Linked DNA regions of Homo sapiens: region 1 is linked to region 2. The links are contacts of gene promoters, found by promoter capture Hi-C in blood cells and fetal thymus (Javierre and others, 2016). All regions are on one chromosome and are shown on one strand. Each heading gives the region's core, a stretch centred on a gene start or on the middle of the fragment in contact. The rest is flanking DNA. Distances are from core to core; before and after follow the strand shown.

Region 1 (4,761 bases), core at 1,599-4,098, 1.0 Mb before region 2:
AAAAAAATAGCCAGACGTGGTGGTGGGCGCCTGTAGTCCCAGTTACTTGGGAGGCTGGGCAGGAGAATGGCGTGAACACAGGAGGCAGAGCTTGCAGTGAGCCGAGATCACGCCACTGCACTGCAGCCTGGGCGACAGAGCGAGATTCCGTCTCAAAAAAAAAAAAATAGTGTCATAATGGCTTTCCTTTTACATAAATATTCTCGCATGTAAATGTTTATTCTCATGGTTGATAATTGCATTGGGATAGACTGCATGTTGTTAATTTCTGCTATTCTTTACTTCCTTTTTTTGGTTTACCGTGTTCTTTTATTCTTTTTATTTTTAAATTATATTGTATTTTTTTTTTTAAGGATGGGGTCTCACCGTATTGCCCAAGCTGTTTTCGATCTCCTGGGCTCAGGCAGTCACCTGCCTCTGCTTCCCAAAGTGCCTTTTACCCTCTTTGAGCTAAATATCTAGGTCTTCCTTGTTTTCTAATATATATATTTAAGGCCAGGCACGGTGGTTCATGCCTATAATCCCAGCACTTTGGGAGGCTGAGGCAGGCAGATCACTTGAGGTCAGGAGTTGGAGACCAGCCTGGCTAACATGGTGAAACCCCGTCTCTACTAAAAATACAAGAATTAGCCTGACATGGTGGTCCATGCCTGTAATCCCAGCTACTCGGGAGGCTGAAGCAGGAGAATCACTTGAACCTGGGAGGCAGAGGTTGCAGTGAGCCGAGATAACGCCATTGCACTCCAGCCAGGGCAATGGAGTGAGACTCTTGTCTCAAAAAAAAAAAAAAAAAAAAAAAAAAAATATATATATATATATATATATATATTTAAGACTATGCATTTCTCTAAAAGTATGACTTTAGCTACATCTTACACGTTTTACATTGCAGTACTTTGGTTTTAATTTAGTTCTGAGTATTTTATGCTTTTCATTATAATTTTTTTTTCACCCACAAGTTACTTAAAAGAGTATCCTTTAGTTTCAAAATATGGATTTTTCCAGTCTTTTTATTATTGATTTTTAATTTACTTTGTGGAGGTTAGAAAACATAACATATGTTTTGAATCTTTATAGCTGTTGAGACTTTTATTGAGACATAGGACCCAGGCGAGTTTTCTCAATGTTCTAGAGATTTCACTATATGATTTTGATGTTTTGGTATTTGAAGGTCTTCAACTGTGGCCTAGTTTGTAGTAGTCAGTTTTTCTTTTTCTTTTTTTTTTTTTTTGAGCCAGGGTTTTTGCGCGTCACCCAGGATGGAGTGCAATGGCGTGAACACGGCTCACTGCAGCCTTGACCTCCTGGGCAGTCCGCCTGCCTCATTCTCTTGAGTTCCTGGGATCAAGGTGTGTACCAGGCCCAGCTATTTTTTTTTTTCCCATAGAGATGAGGTCTCACCATCTTGTCCAGGCCAGCTTGGAACTCCTGGGCTCAAGCAGTCTTCCCGCCTGGGCTTCCCAAAGTGCTGGGATTACAGGAGCGAGCCACCATGCCTGGCCTGTATTTAAATTTTAAGAAGTATTTTTCAGTAGCTTTATTGAGATATAATTTGCATACCATGCCATTCTCCCATTTAAGGTGTACCAGATCCTTTTACAGTTTGTAAGCATGAGATATATATATATCTATATATAGATATATATATAGATATAGATTTTTTTTTTTTTGAGACCAAGTCTTGCTCTGTTGCCCAGGCTGGGGTGCAATGGCACAATCTTGGCTCACTGCAACCTCCGCCTCCTGGGTTTCAAACGATTCTCCTGCCTCAGCCTCCTGAGTACCTGCGATTAAAGGTGCATGCCACCATGCCCGGCCAATTTTTGTATTTTTAGTAGAGGTGGGATTTCATCATGTTGGCCAGGCTGGTCTCGAACTCCTGACCTCAGGTGATCCCTCCACCTTGGCCTCCCAAAGTGCTGGGGTTACAGTGGAGAGCCACTGCACCCAACCTAAGCATGATAATTGAGTGTTCAGGCGCATGTGTGAGATGTGGCACCATGGAACCCTGGTATGATGTCGGTACGTGACCCGTCTGACATGAGAAATGGACAAAATAAATAAATAAATGGTACCAATTCAACAGTTCTTAGTAAATTTACAGGGCTCTGAAATCATCAGCACAATCTAATTTTGTTCCCCCTAAAGAAACCGAGTCTGGGTTCACAGTGAGTCCCTGTTTCCTCCTCCCTCCCAGCCTCTGTCATTTCTCCTGCATTGTACTTGATGGAAAGAGTGTAGTTTCCACACTCGTTCATTAGTTCAGACCTGCTATGTTCTTGCTAATTTGTTTGCTTGTTTCTGAGAGGTGTGTAAAAAGCTTACACCAAGATCATGGATTCATGATTTTTCTTTGAGATGCATCCTTTTTTTTTTTTTCGCTTTACATATTATTTTTTTCTTTTTCTTTTCTTTCTTTTTTTTTTTTTGTTTTTTTTTTTTTGAGATGGAGTCTTGCTCTATTGCCCAGGCTGGAGTGCAGTGGCATGATCTCGGTTCACTGCAGCCTCGACTTCTTGGGCTCAGATGATTCTCTCACCTCAGCCTCCCTAATAGCTGGGACCACAGGAGCCCGCCACCACGCCCGGCTAAGTTTTTGTATTTTTTGTAGTGACGGGGTTTCACTATGTAGCCCAGGCTGGTCTCAAACTCCTGGGCTCAAGCAGTCTGCCCGCCTTGGCCTCTCAAATCGCTGCAATTACAGGTGTGAGGCACTGTGCCTGGCATTTTTTTTTTCTTTTTTTTTTGGAGACAGGGTCTCACTCTGTCACTCAGGCTAGAGTGCAGTGGTGTGATCACGGCTCACTGTAGCCTCAACTTCCTGGGCTCAAGTGATCCTCCCACCCCAGCCTCCTGGATGGCTGGGACTACAGGGACACACCACCACACCCAGCTAATTTTTTGTATTTTTTTGCGGAGACGGGGTTTCACCACGTTGCCCAGGCTGCTTTACACGTTTTGAAGTGAGGTTAGGTATACATAGATGTAGGAATGTTGTGTCTTTCTGGAATTTATCTCCGTGATCAGTTAACTTACTTCTGCATGAATACTGCTTTTTGCTTTACAGCCCATTTTGTTTGCTATTTCTGTTGCTACATCAGCTTCTTTAAAGTTAGAATTTGCCTACTGTGTCTTTTCTCTCCTGCTCCCAGCCTTTCCTGTCGTTGCATTTTATTGCTTTTAGAAACACCACATTGCTTGTTTTTAGTGTTTAATTTAATCTCAGCAACTCTTTCTTTTAACAGATAAGTTTGATCTCTTTAATTTGTTGAGGCGACTGTTAGATTTGAATTCTTTTGTATTTTTTAATTTCCTGTGCCTTACCTTTGTGCCTTTATCCTCCTTTTCTGCCCTCCATCAGATTGATAAAGCTTTTTTTTTTCTTTTAAATCTTTCCTCTTCTGGTTTTGAAGTTATACATTCTATTTATGTTCTTCTTTTTAGACAAGTTCTTGTGCTGTTGTCCAGGACAGTGGTGTAATCACGGCTCACTGCAGCCTTGACCTCCTGGGCTCAGGTGATCTTCCCATCTCAGCTTCCAGTGTAGCTGGGACTATAGATGCGCGCCACCATGCCCAGCGAATTTTTATAGAGAGGGGATCTTCCTGTGTTGCCCAAGCTGGTCTTAAAACTCCTGGGCTCAGGCAATCTGCCCACCTCGGCCTCTCAAGATGCTGGGACCACAGGCTTATTTGTGTTCTTCAGTGGCTACCCTTATATTTTTAACATGAGAACCGGATTTTTTAAAAAGTCTGAAGTTAATTAGACTTTCCATTCTCTATCCAGGCAACCGAAGGACCTCAGAGCACTTGAACTTCAGGCCATCACAACCTTCTATTATTGTCGTTAGTATTTTAATTCTGTTTTGTTTCAAAACCCTTCAACAATGATTTTTTAGATTTTGAACTCAGTGGCATTGTTTTTTGTTTGTTTGTTTGTTTGTTTTTGAGACAGAGTCTTGCCCTGTCACCAGGCTGGAGTGCAGTGGTGCGATCTCGGCTCACCGCAACCTCCACCTCCCGAGTTCAAGCAGTTCTCCTGCCTCAGCCTCCCAAATAGCTGGGACCACAGGCGCCCGCCACCATGCCTGGCTAATTTTTTATATTTTAGTAGAGACAGGGTTTCATTCACCATGTTTGCCAGGATGGTCTCAATCTCCTGACCTCGTGATCTGCCTGCCTTGGCCTTCAAAAGTGCTGGGATTACAGGCGTGAGCCACCACGCCCCGCCTTTTTTTTTTTTAGAGAGACAGGGTCTCCCTCTGTCGCCCAGGCTGGAGTACAGTGGTGCAGTGATAGCTTGCTGCAGCCTCGAACTCCTGGGCTCAAGCAATCCTCCCGTCTCAGCCTCCTGAGTAGCTGGGACTGCAGATGTGTGCCACCATGCCGGGCTAATTTTTTTTTATTTTTTGTAGAGACAGGGTCTTGCTATGTTGTTCTCCTGCCTTGGCCTCCCAAAGTGCTGGGACTACAGGTATGAGCACCTCACCCAGCCTGCAGTGCTGATTCAGGTGGACATAGTGCTTTTTGGGTCCTGGCCTGGTTCTCCTCCTCTGCATGCTCCTCACTCTCCTTACTGAACCACATTCTTTCCACAGGGGCTTCTCACTGGGAAACTCTCCCAACCTTTGCCTCAAAATGTCTTTTTCCCCCACTGGTGCTTTTGAGCGATAGCATAGCTGGTTATAGAAATACAGGATGCCAGTTCTGGAGAGGAATGTTTGTTCCATTGTACCTGCTTGCATGGAGCACTGTCTAAGGA
Region 2 (4,818 bases), core at 1,900-4,399:
CGCTCCCAGCCTCTAAGTCCAGTCAGGGGCATTCCGGGGGGCCCAGATGCCCCCCAGCCCCCAACCGCATCATTCACCGGAGTTGCCCCTGCCCCTCTCTCTTTTCCTCATCCACGCGCCAACCAGGCTTGATCCCAGCCCTCAAGCATCACCCGCCTGAACCCACAGCACCTGCCCAGGCTCCGGCCTCCAGCGTCTCCTGTCTGGACCACAGCTTTGCCAAATGGGATGCCCTCACCCTGATCCTGGTGCCCCCCACACAGCCCCACAGGCAGTCAAAAGTCTTGGGGGTTCCTCCCAAACCCCGACTCCCCCACCCCAATGCCGTTTCAGGTTTCTGATCACCATCTGCAGAGAGCACGTGGTTCCCTGCCCTGCTTCTTCCAGAAACACTCCCCACTGCTCTCCTCCTCGCGTAGGCAAGCACCCTCTACCAAGGCCTGGTTCTAGATCCTTCTGGGGACAGGGGGCCTCCCCAAGGCATGGTGAGCTCCTTGCAAGCAGGGAGAAGGTCTTCCCTACACCCCACACTAGCCCCCGCTGTACGAGATGAGCCGGCCCCGCATGGGAGGGCAGGGAGAGGGCAGTCTCCACCCCAATACCTTCCCCAGGACACCCGACGCACAGTGCGGAGAAGCAGGAAGGCTCTACACCAGACCCCACCGGCCTGTGGGACAGGCCAGCAGACCTCATGGCCTGGGCTTCCTCATCTACAGCAGCTGGTCGGGGGGTGGGGCATGTGGCCACTCAAGTTCGCTTGTACCTGCTCTAAAACTCTATGATTTTAAGACGACACTCCCAGTTTCCTGAAACTGTAGGAAAGCGGAAACATGACGAGTCTGTGACTTATAAAAAGCAAAAATAAATAGCGGGGAAAGGCATCTTCCATTCGCGGAGAGCAGGGAGGGTGGGGACGGAGCGGTGAGTCACTGTTTACTGTTGAAAGGCGGCCACACGGAGCCCTCTCTCAGCTGGCCAGATTTCCATTTCCCGTGTGGACTGGACCCGAAACCCAGAAAGTCCACTCCAGAAACCTTTAGACTCAGAAACAGCTGGGACAAGAACAGGCACAACTTCTTCTCCGTCTGGGTGGCAAACAGCTTTGCCAGAGACTGTAAACAAACGCAGCCATCGCTGAGCCCCGTGGGTGAAAGCACACGCCTTGTAGACAGCGAAGTGGCCCGGAAGACGGTCTCCCTTAACAGCAGCCTCCCGGGTGCACACAAAGGCTGGCGCCCCGACAACCCTGACCCTCGGTAAACGCTGGCTCCCGGGTTTACCAGCACCTGGGGAGTCGACGCTGCGGGCAACCAGCCCCTCAAAGCCCTGGCTCGGTTCAAGGATAAAAGGCAGGAGAAGCCTGGTTTTTCTGCTTTAATAAATGTCTTATTTTGGAATAATGAGAGGTCTAGTTTTAAAAGCAGACTCCCTCTCCCAAGGTCAAACTCAGACATTCCTACTGGGTTACCTAAGAAAGGGAGATGTTCTCATAAATGGCACTGGACGCCCAAATAGGGTGTAGGTGTGTCCCAGACACCTGCACAGCCCACCTATGTTCTCCAGACCCCGCCCACGGCTCTTTTAATGCTCCATGTCCCTGAAGACATTGGGTTTGGAGAAGCTGCATAGGGCACCCCACTCTGTGTTGGAGAACCCCTTACAACAACACACCGTGACGGTGAAACCTCAGTGCCAGTAAAGAGACCTGGCAGCCCACCCTGGAGAATCAGAGGGGTGGGAAGGGCGCTGCCAGAGCCGAACCACACAGATATCCCCTAGACCACGATGGGGGGCGGTGGGGGGCGTTTTGAGTCTCAGGATCTTCCCAAGGCCAGGCACCTGGCCAGAGATTGGCTGGCTGCCTGTGGGTCACCTGGTGAATGAATGGTGAGTGGATCTAATTTCTGCCTCAGCTACAAGAGCTACTTAAGAAGCAAGAAAACAGCATGCTCAGGGACGCAGGACACCAGGAGAGGGACACGGGAGGCCCCGCGAACACGGACACACACGGTGTGAGCGCGAGAATGCAGTGCAGGGCCACTGCTGTGTCCCAGGCGGACCCAGGTCAAGGGCCAAGGCCAGGCGGGGTCCTGGCTTTCTGGGTTTCTCGGTGGCGCCTGGTCCCACCCCCCAGGATCTAGAGGCTGTGCAGACGCAGACACACACAGTCACGGGCACATACACAGTTTCCTGAACTTGACAGAGGCACAGAAGAACTCACGCAGTGGGAGCGGGAAGAGGCCGGAGCCCCTGCCCCACACGTGAGCAAAGGGACGAGCCTTGGGGCCACTGTCACCTGCCCCCCTCCCGCCTCCCCACGGCCTTCCTTCCAGCAACCCTGGCAGGTGGGCGGCTGAGAGCGACACCAGTCCCAGGATCCCGCCTGTGGGGAGACCCGGTTACCCCCACCCCGTTCCCGGGCACGCGTGACCCCAGCCACTGGGCCAGAGCGCCGCCCGTCACCGGGAGGAAGCGCGGGGGGCAGTCCGGGGCCGCACGCGGAAGCCACGCTGGGGCGGAAGCCGCGGAGAATCCACGCGCCCGCGCCCTCCCCGCACCGCCCGCACGTGGCGCCCGCCCCGCCCCGCCCCCCGCAGGTGTGAAGGCGCGGGCCCGATGCGCGCCGCCGACCCGCGTGGATCCTCGTCCTCCCAGGTCTGGGGTCCGCGCCCTGGGGCCCCCGGCGCGGCAAGCATGGCCCGGGCGGCACGTGCAGGGGAGAGAGCCTCGCGTCCCGGGGAAGCCCCCGGGCCTGCGGGGCGGGGCCCACCTGGGCAGGTGCCCGGGCCGCGCCGCGGGCCGCATGAGGGTCTCGGGCCCCGCGCACCCAACCCCGCCACCCTCGGCCCGCGCCCCCAGGCGGCCGTGACTCAGCGGCCAGGTAGCCCCGGCCCCGCGCCCCGGTCCCCGTCCCCGCCGCGGCCCGGGCCCCGCTGCCCCACCGCCCCTCACCTGGCGTCGCGCGGAGGGCGCGGGCGCGCGGCGGCTCCTCGCGGGCACGCGCTGTCCTCGCGCCGGCGCTCACTGTCGCGCTCCCCTCGGCCGCCGCCGCCGCCTGGCGCTCGGGCTCCGACTTCGCGAAGAACAACAAGTGCCCCCGCGCCGCCCGCCGCCACCGCACCCGCCCGCCCGGCTCCCCAGCATCTGACACCGCTTCCGGGATCCGCGGCGCGCGCGTCACACCGCCCTGCCCCCCGGGCCACGCCCCCTCCCCGCCCCGCGGCCACGCCCCCCGGCCACGCCCTCCTCTCCCGCCCGGGGGGCCGCTGGCCCCGCGCGCACCTGCAATCCCCGCGCTTTGGGAGGCCCTGCGGGAAGATCTCTGGAGGCCGGGAGTTCAAGACCAGCCTGGGCAACATAGCGAAACCTCCCTTCCCCCATTCTCTGTCTCTATAAACATAAAAAACATTAAGGCCAGCTGGGAACGGTGGCTCATGCCTGTAATCCCAGCACTTTGGGAGGCCAAAGCAGGAGGATCGCTTGAGCCCAGGAGTTCCAGACCAGCCTGGACAACACAGTGAGACCCCCATCTCTACAAAAAAATTACAAAAATTAGTCGGGCGTGGTGGTATGTGCCTGCGGCCCCAGATATTCAGGAGGCTGAGGCAGGAGGATGGCTTGAACCTGGAAGGTGGAGGCTGCCATGATTTCATCACTGCACTCTAGCCTGGGTGACAAGGTGAGACCCTGTCTCAAAAAAACAAAACAAGCAAACCAGCAATGTAAAAATGGGGATAAGCGGCTAGTGATCACAGCCTCTGTGGGTGGGGCCAGCCCCCTTCTAAAGCCCCAGCTGGTGGTTGCCAGGGGACACAGCAGGCCCAGGATGGGGTTAGGGCACCACTGGCCCAAGGAGTCCTGTGAGGGATCCTCAGGTGGGGGCGGGCCCCTGAGGGAGCTGCCTCTGCTTCCTGTCACAGGTGGAGGACAGGCTGGAGAGGGGATCCGTCTGGAGCCCCTTGCCACGCTTCTGGGTCCCCAAGTCCCGCCCCCCTCTGAGCGCTGCAGGAAGAGGAGTTTCAGGCCTGGGCAACCGAGGGCCCCCCAGGACACCCATGGCATCTGCCCGGGGTTCTGGGAAGCCTGTTTTCTCAGCTCAGGTGGGACCCGGGAGCCTGTTTTCTCGGCTCAGGTGGGACTCAGGAGCCAGTGCAGGGAGGTCTGTGCATCTTCTGGGTGTCGTCCTTACCACCATGTGGCTGGGGATTTAGGCAGCAGCCCAGTGGCCTCTTGCTGTGGAGCGCGGGGGCAGCCTCCCGGGCCATCTCTCCCCCCCACTTGCGGGTTCTGCACTGGCCACCTGGGAGGCCCCTCCTTGCTAAGGCCCACACGGCCGTCTGGGGCAGCTAGCCACAGTGATGCCTGCAACCTGGCCGCAGAAACAGGTGCCAAGAAATAACTCAACAGCAGCAGTAGCGACAATGTCCCACGTCCCCAGGATGTTTGCAGAAAGACATCCCCCGGGGATGGGAAAGGTGCTTCCCTTGTCCTGGCCCACACTCTGCACTCGGGGTCCTGGGATGCGCTGGGAGCCTCCAGAGAAGCTGTGGCCATCTCCGCGGGACTCTTTACGTTACTCATGGTGTCGCTCCTCTAACCCAAATGCATTCTTTCCATAGCAGGCTTTTGTTACTAATCACACACTTTTATTATCTCTTTAATTTTTTAATTTGTATTTATTTATTTCTGAGATGGAGTCTCACTCTGTCGTCCAGGCTGGAGTGCAGTGGCACCATCTCGGCTCACTGCAGCCTCCGCCTCCCAGGTTCAAGTGATTCTCCTGCCTCAGCCCCCTCGAGTAGCTGGGATCACAGGTGC

The links. Contacts are between HindIII fragments. The CHiCAGO score rates a contact against its expected background, and 5 or more counts as called.
Region 1: a fragment that was not itself captured here is called in contact with the fragment with the promoter of MAFK in region 2 in 1 of 17 cell types (naive CD4 T cells); the score reaches 5.7 in naive CD4 T cells.

Annotation. Positions count from the first base shown.
Region 1 is chr7:2,548,150-2,552,910 of GRCh38, reverse strand. All of the region lies in intron 2 of BRAT1 (BRCA1 associated ATM activator 1), which reads left to right. It also overlaps the pseudogene LOC124901849. Among named protein-coding and RNA genes, the nearest start is that of BRAT1, 5.0 kb to the left of the region's middle. The HindIII fragment of the contact is 1,051 bases long and covers 2,323-3,373 here.
Region 2 is chr7:1,529,033-1,533,850 of GRCh38, reverse strand. MAFK (MAF bZIP transcription factor K) reads right to left here and starts at 3,149. Exons shown (of 3, transcript NM_002360.4): 1 at 2,953-3,149. It overlaps LOC100128653 (a long non-coding RNA gene), which reads left to right. Exons shown (of 1, transcript NR_149036.1): 1 at 1-1,398. RefSeq lists enhancers at 664-773, 744-1,038, 964-1,113 and silencers at 2,430-2,559, 3,050-3,319. The HindIII fragment of the contact is 17,285 bases long and covers 1-4,818 here.